Regions from separate parts of the Homo sapiens genome. Here region 2 is linked to region 1. The links are contacts of gene promoters, found by promoter capture Hi-C in blood cells and fetal thymus (Javierre and others, 2016). All regions are on one chromosome and are shown on one strand. Each heading gives the region's core, a stretch centred on a gene start or on the middle of the fragment in contact. The rest is flanking DNA. Distances are from core to core; before and after follow the strand shown.

Evidence for each region. Contacts are between HindIII fragments. The CHiCAGO score rates a contact against its expected background, and 5 or more counts as called.
Region 2: a fragment that was not itself captured here is called in contact with the fragment with the promoter of NDUFAB1 in region 1 in 1 of 17 cell types (M1 macrophages); the score reaches 5.5 in M1 macrophages.

Annotation. Positions count from the first base shown.
Region 1 is chr16:23,593,502-23,598,943 of GRCh38, forward strand. It overlaps NDUFAB1 (NADH:ubiquinone oxidoreductase subunit AB1), which reads right to left and starts at 2,815. Exons shown (of 5, transcript NM_005003.3): 1 at 2,622-2,815. The coding sequence starts at 2,789. RefSeq lists silencers at 551-727, 2,473-2,562. The HindIII fragment of the contact is 11,223 bases long and covers 1-5,442 here.
Region 2 is chr16:24,546,411-24,552,311 of GRCh38, forward strand. RBBP6 (RB binding protein 6, ubiquitin ligase) reads left to right here. Exons shown (of 18, transcript NM_006910.5): 3 at 2,535-2,571. Among named protein-coding and RNA genes, the nearest start is that of RBBP6, 9.8 kb to the left of the region's middle. The HindIII fragment of the contact is 301 bases long and covers 4,000-4,300 here.

The DNA of each region.
Region 1 (5,442 bases), core at 1,565-4,064:
AATGAACTTAGTCAAAACCACTTTGTAAATATAAATAAAATGGTTCCTCTGCTATATATGCAAGCCAAGCCGCCATAGTGGAACATTTCTGAGCTCCTTGCCATTCAAAGCATGGTCCAAGGAACACCCGCAGCAGGATCTTCTGGAAGCCCACTGGAGGTGGAAACTCTCTGGCCCCTTCCCAGAACTGAATCAGAATCTGTATTCCAGCCTAAGTGATCTGTATGTCCAATCAACTGAGAATCAATGCTGTAAGAACAAAGACAGTCACTTCACATTTTAGCCCAATGTTGAAATCAATCTTAGGAACCAGACACTCATCAATTCTAACTACTGCCTTTTTAACCCTTATTTATTTATTTATTTATTTATTTATTTATTTATTTATTTATTTATTGAGATGGAGTCTGGCTCTGTCGCCCAGGCTGGAGTGCAGTGGCACGATCTCGGCTCACTGAAAGCTCTGCCTCCCGGGTTCATGCCATTCTCCTGCCTCAGCCTCCCGAGTAGCTGGGACTACAGGCGCCCGCCACCACGCCCGGCTAATTATTTTGTATTTTTAGTAGAGACGGGGTTTCACCGTGTTAGCCAGGATGGTCTCCATCTCCTGACCTCGTGATCCGCCCGTCTCGGCCTCCCAAACTGCTGGGATTACAGGCGTGAGCCATCGCGCCTGGCCTTTAACCCTTAATTTCAAGGTGACACTTTTCACCTTTTGATACAGCCAACAGGGCAGTGCCCAATGAATGAATCCATTACACTGTCAGTGAACAGCAACACTGGCTTCACAAAAGAAACACTTGATGACTTCTAAAAATAGTCGCCTAGTACTCACTTCTAGATTCTGTCGATCTGGCACGGGCTGGCTGGCTTATTTAAGACGGTCTGCCTCCCAGACTGGAGTGCAGTGGCATCATCTCAGCTCCCTAAAACCTCTGCCTCCTGGGTTCAATCGATCCTCCCACCTCAGCCTCCTGAGTAGCTGGGACTACAGGCGCGTGCCACCACGCCCGGATAATTTTTTGTATGTTTAGTAGAGACGGGGTTTCACTGTGTTAGCCAGAATGGTCTCGATCGCCTGACCTCGTGATCCGCCCGCCTCGGCATCCCAAAGTGCTGGGATTACAGGCATAAGCCACCGCGCCCGGCCTAATTTCTGTATTTTTTGTAGAGACGGGGTTCCACCATGTTGCCTAGGAGGGTCTCAAACTCCTGGGCTCAAGCGATTCGCCCGCCTCGGCCTCCCAAAGTGCTGGGATTACAGGCGTGAGCCACCACGCCTGGCCAGACACACTTATTTTTCACACTAACATGCAGTCAAGGTTGAAACCACTATTACCTGAAGTCTATGACTTTGAAAAGGGGTTTCATAACTTGACCTTGGGAGTCTATCCTACCTTAAGACGGTTATTTTTATTCCCAACTGCACTTCAGAGTCATCTGGAGAACTTAGAAAACAACAAAAAAAAGGCAGGGCGCGGTGGTTCACGCCTGTAATCCCAGCACTTTGGGAGGCCGAGGCGGGTGGATTGCGAGGTCGGGAGTTCAAGACCAACCTGGCCAATATGATGAAACCCCGTCTCCACTAAAAATACAAAACTTAGCCGGGCATGGTGGCGGGCGCCTGTAGTCCCAAATACTCGGGGGGGCTGAGGGAGGAGAATTGCTTGAACCTGAGAGGCGGAGGTTGCCGTTAGCCGGAGGTTGCAGTGAGCTGAGATCACGCCACTGCATTACAGCCTGGGTGACAGAGCGAGACTCTGTCTCAAAAACAACAACAACAACACCGAAATCACTGCCTCCCGGCGTTTCAGCCTCACGCAGATTTCATCAGCTCAAGCTATATACTACAGGTACAGTCGTTCCTTGGTATTTGCGCAGATTGGTTCCAGGACCCCCGACTATACCCAAATCCCCGCACACTCACGTCCCGCAGTCAGCCTTGCAGAATCCGCTTATAGGAAGAGCCTGCCCTCCTTATACGCGGGGCGGCACATCCCGTAAATACTGGTCGCGTTTGGTTGAAAAAAAATCCGCATATAAGTGGACCCGCGCAATTCAAATCCTTATTGGTCAAAGGTCACTTGGCTTGTTTCCTAGAATTACTTCCAGGAGTCCTGGACACAGGCAGAAGGTGCTGCAGGGAAGAGTAAGGACAGAACTGCAGAGAGAAAACCGCTCTGGAGAAGGCTGTAGGCCAGTGTGGCTGCCTCTTTGCATGCTGCTTTCACTACAATACGGTGACCGCTATTTTGAGACCGTACGAGGTGCTCTAGCCGCATTAACTCATCTAATCCTCATTGCTACTCCGCAAGGTAGAGACCAGGATCCCAATTTTGCAGGTGAGTGTGAGCCAGGCTAGGAGACTTGTCCAAAGTTTCGGTAAGCGGCAGCCCAGCAGTGCTGGACTCGAGTCAGTGCTCTTGCTCGTTATTACGAGGTCACCCGGCCTCCCGTCAGGGGTCAACTAAACACCTTTAGGCAGCGGGGCTGCGGAGCGAGCCGGCTGCCCCCCGGGTCACCCCTGCCTGCAGCTGGCGCGCCCCGGATGCCCGGCCCCCACCCCCACCGGGCCCAATCCCTGACCCTTGCCAAGCGGCAGCAAAGTCACCACGAGTCACCTGCGCGAGCACTAAGGCCGGCTGCAAAGTCCCGAGCCTCGTCTGGGTCCCCGCGGAGCAGAGAGCGGTGCTGAGAGGCCGGGCCACGGCCAGCATCCGGACCCGGGGCAGCGGCGCAAAGGCCGCGGGCAGGCGGCTGACATAGGCTGAAAGGACACGAGACGCCATGGCTACGCCAACCCAGGATGCACTGCGCCGCCGCCTCCGGACCAGGGTTCCTTTCCGGCGGCGCGCAGGCGACGCACACGGCAGCGCTGTCGGGCACCGCCGGCGGTGGCGGCCCCTGGCGGCTCCTGGAGGCACTGCGCCCTCGGAGCCCATCCAGGTTCGGGGACGAACAACTGCTTGGTGTCACAACTAAACTGTGCAGACGTCGCCGTCTTTCCCTAAACGACACGGCACGAGAAACCTACTTTCATTTTTTATCTGAAAGTTCTGAAATACATCTGTTTAAACGTTTGGGGCCGGGTGCGGTGGCTGACGCCTTTAATCCTAGCACTTTGGGAGGCCAAGGTGGCAGGACTGTTTGAGCTCAGGAGTTCAAGACCAACCTGGCCAACACGGCAAGACTCCGTCTCTATTACAAAAAAGATTAAAAGAAAAAAAGGACAAAGTTTTGATTCCACAATTCTTCCACAAGTATTAACATTTATTGAATAGGTAAAAAAATATATATAATAATGTGAAAAAATAATCAATTTCAATACCTAAGACTAATAAATGTGAGAATTACGATTAAAACAATATACATGTTTTAAAACTTGACAGTGTATAATATAGCTGTCAGGTCCACGACTATGCCAACTGTCATGCCCACAGCCAGGTTCCAGCCCATATCGAGGTCTGAGGGGAGTGGGTGGATGAACAGATAGCTGAAAGAACACTCAGGGGACGGTAGGCAGGTGAAAGATGATTTTATTCAGCAGCAGCTCTCATCAGCAGCTTACTTACACTAGTTCTCTCACACTGTCTGCCTTGTCTCAGCTGCTTAGTCCCATGGCTCCCCCACACAACTGCGAGGCTGGCTCTCCCTTGCCTTCAGGGTCAGCAGCTTAACTCTCTCTCAGCTGTGATCTGGCTCCCCCTGTCTGTCTGCAAAGACTGACAGCTCTGGCTCTCTCTTTCTCTGGGCACGAACGCCTGTACAGTATCAGCAGGGCAATTATACCTTTTACAGAAAATAGTGGCTTAGAGCCAAGTGATGACCTTCCCATGTTATGCCTACATGGCTGTGATAACAAGTGGAGTTATACGCCTCTGTCTAAACTTGCTGAGTCACGCAGGATGTAAACATCTTACCTTGGCCTATCCTTGACCAAAGCACAGCCATGTTCCTTACAATAGCTAACAAAAATAGGTAAGCGAGGGAGGAGTTTAAGAAGGCTAATTCCTATTTCTAAGCAGGGAGCTAAAGGATATTGACTGAAATGGAAACACACGGGATAATGACTCCAAATTCTGAAATCTGCCTGAATGAATGATCCAATAATGTCACCAGTTTTACCTCAATTTCTTTTTATTTTTGTTAAATCCAAGTAAAATAAAATGTAATGGTATGCTGCCAGGCGCGGTGGCTCATACCTGTAATCCCAGCACTTTGGGAGGCCAAGGTGGGTGGATCACGAGGTCAAGAGATCGAGACAATCCTGGTCAACATGGTGAAACCCCATTTCTACTAAAAATACAAAAATTAGTTGGGTGTGGTGGTGCGCGCCTGTAGTCCCAGATACTCAGGAGGCTGAGGCAGGAGAATCGCTTGAACTTGGGAGGCAGAGGTTGCAGTGAGCCGAGATTGCGCCACTGCACTCCAGGCTGGCAAAAGAGCAAGACTCCATCTCAAAAAAAAAAAACGAAAACAAAAAAAACATAGTTTCATCCCACTGTTGTAAAATAATTTCTATTTATTATAGCATTCCTTTAAAACTCGAGTGTCTGGGGGCCAGGCATGGTGGGTCAAACCTGTAATCCCAGCATTTTGGGAGGCTGAGGCAGGTGGATCACCTGATGTCAGGAGTTTGAGACCAACCTGGACAACATGGTGAAACCCCGTCTCTACTAAAAATACAAAAATTAGCTGGGTGTGGTGGCAGGTGACTGTAATCCCAGCTACTCAGGAGGCAGGAAGCTGAGACAGGAGAATTGCTTGAACCCGGGAGGTAGAGGTTGCAGGGAGCTGAGATCGCGCCATTGCACTCTAGCCTGGGCAACAAGAGTGAAGCTCCATCTCAAAAAAGTCTCAAAAAAAAATTGAGTATCTGTTACGTACTAATTGTTGAGGCTGCAACTGTGAGCAAGCCAGACAGGCAAGCCTGGTTCAGTGGCTCACCTCCGTAATCCCAGCACTTTGGGAGGCCAAGGGAGGTGGATCGCTTGAGCCCAGGAGTTTGAGATCAACCTAGGCAACACAGGGAGACCTTGTCTCCATAAAAAATTTAAAAAATTAGCCAGGCATGGTGATGCATGTCTGTGGTCCCAGCTGCTTGGGAAGCTGAGGTGGGAGGACCAATTGAGCCCAGGAGGTCAAGGCTGCAGTGAGCTATGATCACACCACTACACTCCAGCCTGGGCAACAGAGTGAGACTCTGTTTCCCAAAAAAATGTAGCTCTTAGCTTAGGAAGAACCTAATCCTACTAAGTTCACAATTGGGGCCATCTCTTCCCATGACCTATCTAGTCTTTCAGTGTTACACGTATGTATGTATATATGTATGTATGTATGTATTTATAGAGATGGGGTTTCACCGTGTTAGCCAGGGTGGTCTCAAACTCCTGACCTCATGATCTGCCCGCCTCGGCCTCCCAAAGTGCTGGGATTACAGGC
Region 2 (5,901 bases), core at 2,900-5,399, 950 kb after region 1:
GTTCGTTTGTTTTTGATTTCCTCCCCCAGTTAAATTGACTTAGCCTGTTGTGAGAGGGCCATTATTAGGAAAAATTTTTCTCCATATGGCCAGTATTTACAGATACAAGAAAGTGATATTCACATTATTTCTGTGCCTTTCTTTGACTACTTTTTTTTGTGGGGGTTCCTTCAGTTTTCTTCACTACAAAAATTTGGTGTTGTAGACATCGGTCCTAAATATTTTGACAGCATCAAGAGTATTCAGTAATGCTAACATTTACTCTTTATCAATAAGGGGCTTTGGCTGAGAGGCATAAAGTATATAGGATTTATAATCATGGGCACTGAAATCAGGCTTAGATTTGACTCCATTTACTGCTTCATACCAGTTGTGTGACTTTGGACCTTGGGTAAGTCTCTGTGCCTCAGATTCCTCAAAAATAAAATAGGGACGTGAGTACTTAACTCTAGAGGGTTGTAAGAATTAAATAGTGTCTGGCACATGCTAAATGCACATTATTGGAGTAGGAAGAGAGCAGTCTCACAACTAGTCCGGAGCTGGTATTCACTAACCTGGGGCAGGATTAAAACCTTATATCCTTAACTTTCTCTGCTTTCTTGCAATTTCAGTAGTGATAGCAGAACTATAATATGTGAAAAGGGCAGCAACATAGGTTATTTAAAGAGTAGTGATTTTCACTTAGAATTAGGTAGTATTGTTTGAAATTGGAACAAATTATTTTGAGTCAATGAAAAATTCTAGAATTTGCCAGTGCTAGGGAATGGAAAGTGTTCTTGAAATTAAGGTAAAAATAAAGTCATTTCTTGGAGCTTTACCTCATATGGGCAAGTATTCTAAGATTTTTCTCATTAGTTTGTTGTAAAGTTATATTCCATATCTTAACACTTAGAGGTCCTTTTGTGCAGTATCTTCCATATAATAGCTACTTTAAAAAGCTGAATACTTTCCTTGTTGTAATTGCCAAGTGAACTTTTAATGGTGTGTGTTCTTAACTTTAAATGATTCTAAGAATTATATATATATGTGTGTATATATATATATTGTTTTGTTTTGTTTTGTTTTTTCCTGAGATGGAGTCTCACTCTGTTGCCCAGCCTGGAGTGCAGTGGCACAATCTTGGCTCACTGTAGCCTCCGGGCTCAAGCGATTCTCCTGCCTCAGCCTCCCAAGTAGCCAGGATTATGGGTGCCCACCACCAAGCCTGGCCAATTTTTGGATTTTTAGTAGAGACTGGGTTTCACCATGTTGGCCCGGCTGGTTTCAAACTCCTGACCTCAGGTGATCCACCCAACTTGGCCTCCCAAAGTACTGAGATTACAGGCGTGAGCCACCGCACCCAGCCTAAGAATTATAAATTTATGGGGAGAATTAATTCCTACAATCCAGTGTGAAATTTTACTTTAATTTACCAAGTGCTTTTTAAAAAATGGCAAATGTATTTTCTGTAGATTTTTTGATAGAAACTCTTAAGAATTATTTGAAGTACATGGCAAAATAAGTTGCCTCTTACACAGAATTATATGTTAATGTACAATATATAGGGTTCTGTTTGTAATAAATTTGCCTCATAAAATGCATCTCAGTTTTTTTTTGAGCAAATACTAGAAAATCAAAGCTCAGTTTTTTTTTTATCTCAAATTCCAAATTATACACACACCTAGAAACTCCTGTTAGATGCTAACATTTCTCTATAGTCAAGATACCTTAAACTTTAAGCATTAAAAGGCTATAATCTAGCAACTCAACTTCTTCCCCTTTCCTGTGTGGATTAAAATAATTTCTTTTGGGGTTTATGTCTTTTAAACATCAAATTGTCCAGTTCTACACAGCCATTTAAGTCAGTTCTTTTAACTAAAATACTCTGATTATATTGTGTTTTTCTGGGAGTGAGAATTTTTGTTCAGTTTTTTTTTTTTTTCTGTTTTTAAGAGATGGGGTCACTATGTTACAGCCCAGGTTAGTCTCAAACTCCTGGGCTCAAGTGATCCTCTCACCTTGGCCTCTTGTTCAATCCTTGATTGTTGTTTTGAGACATTTGAAAAATGAAAATAGCTATCAGCCTGGCCCTCCAGATTTGAAAATTAGTTTTGGGAGCACAGCAATTTCTCAGGGATTCAAATTACAAATGTTAACAACAGCAGTCTTCCTGATGTGTGAAAATTTACGCATTCAGAAACTGGGAAATTATATAATTTAAAATTTTCAGTTTATTAAGAATAAACTACGTTTCTAAACATAAAATCCCTATACTACCTTTCAGAAAACATTTGTTTTAAGTGGCAGGGTACACCTATTTTTGAATTCCCTAGTATGGAATTTTTTTCCAAACCACAAATCTATCTTAAAACTGCTCAAAGGTGGTAAAGATTAATCAGAGTAATTTATTCATTCAGAAATTGGCTGTTAAATATTTATACCAAAGGAAAATTAGGTTCCTAAAAATGTATTATTGAAGATAATGTGTTAAAATTTATTAGCACAAAAATTCATAAATAGCTAATGTTAATTTTTGTTTTTATTTTGTGTTTTAGAAGTCGAACTGAACCAGCGATGGCAACTACAAAAGCAGTATGTAAAAACACAATCTCACACTTTTTCTACACATTGCTTTTACCTTTATAATGTAGCAGTGAAGTAAATCATTTTAGAACTTAATATCCAACTGATCATAGTACATATTGTAAATAAAATGTATTTTGATGACAGCTCAGTTGAATATGGATAATATGTGGCATCACTTGCACACTTATTTTGTAGAAATGGGTAATTTGTGCCCGTAACACTGTTTCATATTAAATATGATAGCATTATCCCTGTATGACACTGTGTTGTACAGTTAATGTATGATCCTTTTTAGATCGTTTAGGTTTTACACTAAGGAACATGATGACATGTTCTACATTTGTCTGTCTATAGTTAGTATTTTGTATGTATGTACAGGCTGTTGTGTGCTTTTTGTTTCTTGCAATAAAAAATGTTTGGAGTGTATATTTTGCCATTTTCACGTTGTATCACTTAGTTTTTGTTAGTTTTTTTTTTCCTGCCTGATTTATGGCTTCCAAAAACGCATTAGCAACATGCAAAGCTTATATTAAAGTTTGATGCTTTCTCCAAGTTCAAACACATCATAGAAAAGAGCTTTCCAGAGACCATTGATGCAGCTTTATTATTTAGTCTTGCTTTATTTGGCATTTTGAGCTCCTTCTTTTGTTTACATCTGTACTATAAAGTGAAACCTGAACCTGGGGCCCCCTATGAATATATAAGTGTCTTAGTGATTTTGAGTTTATATAAACTGATTATATTGTTTTCAAAGTTTAATGAGATCTTCCACTTCTATCTAGTTAGTGCAGATGTCCAAATTAAAATATTTCCCTCTTATACTAAAATGCTGCGTTAATTTTAGGCCATTGAAAGCTGTACCTTATCAGAGGTAACTCCCCTTAACCAGGATAACTGGTTTGAAGAAAGTTAAGCTTAATTTTTGTAATCACAGATTAACTTAATTTGTGATACCATTTTAACTTTGAGCTCTTAAGTAAAAAGTAGCAGCATTCCTAAGTTGTGGGGTGAAGCATCTGTTTCATAACACAGGTCTATCATAATTGGGTTCTGTAAATGTAATGGTTCTCTAAACATTTTAATGCCCAGGCTTGATATTGTACACAATGCAAGATGTCTAAAATCTTCATTTAGAATTCAAGGGTATTGCTTGCTATTTCACATTATATACTTTTTAAATACTATTGCTCTTTGTATATGAGGCATTTCACTAACCTTGGATCATTGGATCTTAAACATGATAATATAGAATATCTGAACATTGGACTTGTTCTTTAGAGTATATGGCCTTTAGTTCTTGTGGAACTAAATACAGTGATTCTAAGATCAAAAGTCTTAGTGTTTGGGGTTTTTTTTTCCTCTTTTTGGATATGGGGTGTTTTTTTTTGTTTTTTTGTTTTTTTTTTTTAAGCATAATGCTGTAAAAACTGTCCAAGCTTATGTTTTGCTGGTGATTGGTTTAAAACTGATTTTTATGTATCCAAATGCTAGCATAAATTAGATTGACTATCCTGGTGACTGTAGTAGTTAATGTAACACATTTTGTATAAAGTACAGTTTATATAGTATTTAAACTAATTCAGATGAAGTTTTATTTCTTGAAAACAGTTATTTCCTTTTTGTTTATTAGCATGTGTATAAACACAAATCACATGTTCATAAATAAAGTTAACATTCTTTTAGCCTTGTGTGTTCCGGCATGTCTGTATTACATTTATAAGAAGCAGTTTATTTAAGCTTATTTAGGTTTCTCTTTTCTTTTCTTTTTTTTTTAATACTTTAAAATTGGCTTTAATTTTTAGGTAGAATTATCTGAAATAGAGATATTAGATAACCTTGTTGTCCCCATCATTTATTTGCTTGGGGTACATTTGCTGGCATTTAAGATGAGAATATATTCATCAAGCATAATTAGTGCCCATCTTAGGAGATTTAGAGTCACGTGGATTGTACACATTCACAAAAGCAAAGTAAATAGAGGCGCTAAGCCAAATTTTTCTTATCCTGATTAGTAAAGTAAATGTATAGTTTTGGTAATGGAAGCGAACTCTAATCAAGAATGGATGGCTGTTTCCATATTCCCCAGTCTTGTTTTTAGTCATCCATCCATGTTGATACCCCAAAGCTGGATGTTCTTCTTGCTAACTAAATATCAGAGTGGTATTTTATAGGATTCTTTAACTTCAAAAAGCTAATATAATTGGCATAAAAGATTTTAGATCCTTGCTTCCCAAAACAAGACCCCTAATTAGGTACAGGGAGGTGGGTTAATTTTAATGTCTACGGTCTGCATCAGTCCGTTTTGTGAGGACTTTAAGTGGCAGACTTTTTTTTACCATTAGTATCTTACCAAGAGTCACTATTTTTATTGATGTTTAGTAATACAAATTCCTAATCATTTTTAAACCATTCTTTGTCAACATTTTTTGCTCATTTCTGAACACCTTGCTATATGTAGGAAACATTTGTTTGCTTTTCTAAATTTGAGGTAAATTTGACTTCTTTGTGGACTATAAGATATTTAGGGGCAATAGTGATTACTTGGTGGTAAAAAGGTGATTTAGGTGCAGTTGCATATCTAAAACCACTTCAAAGTCAATAAATACATAATACTAATAAGTTAGCAGAAAGCTTAAAAGCACACAAAAGCCCAGCATAAAAACAAAAAGGATACTATATCTTAAGTGTTAGGAGTGGGAAGATTTTTTTTTTATTCTTAAGTTTTTTAGTTCCAGTGGTAAGAAAGTTAATATAATTGTTTTCTTTCCAAGGAAATCATCAGTATTTATATTCTATTCTAGATAGTAATGGGCTATTTTTAAAGACTATTTGTTTTATTGGTTAGAATGTAGTATAGATGATGGTTGACAGCAATTTGTCTAGTCCTTGTTACTTAAAATCAAGTAACTTCTGGTTGGTATAAAATCTTTAAAATAGATTGAGTAGGTCAGAACTTATTTTAGATAAAAAGAGATATGTATTATTTAGAGGTTTTTTTCTACTTACCACTTGAGATTAGTTCTTAAAGGAAAAAAATACTTAAAAGCTGGACAAAAATGATAACCCATTGGCAAATTATGTAGATATGCATTAAGTTATAGGGTTAGTGCATCATGAACTCTTTTATAGTCAGTTCCTTAATGTGGAGCAAAGAACCTTTTGTCTGAATAAACATCCCAGTAATATCCATCAAATTAACTTTTAAAACCCTAAGATATTTGTGAGATGTGTCTTATATTTAGCCAACATTATTTTTTATTTACATTTATTGAATCCCTACTGTGTGGGCATTGGCTAAGAACTTCATATTGAGACTGGTTACATTTGTCTTTGGGG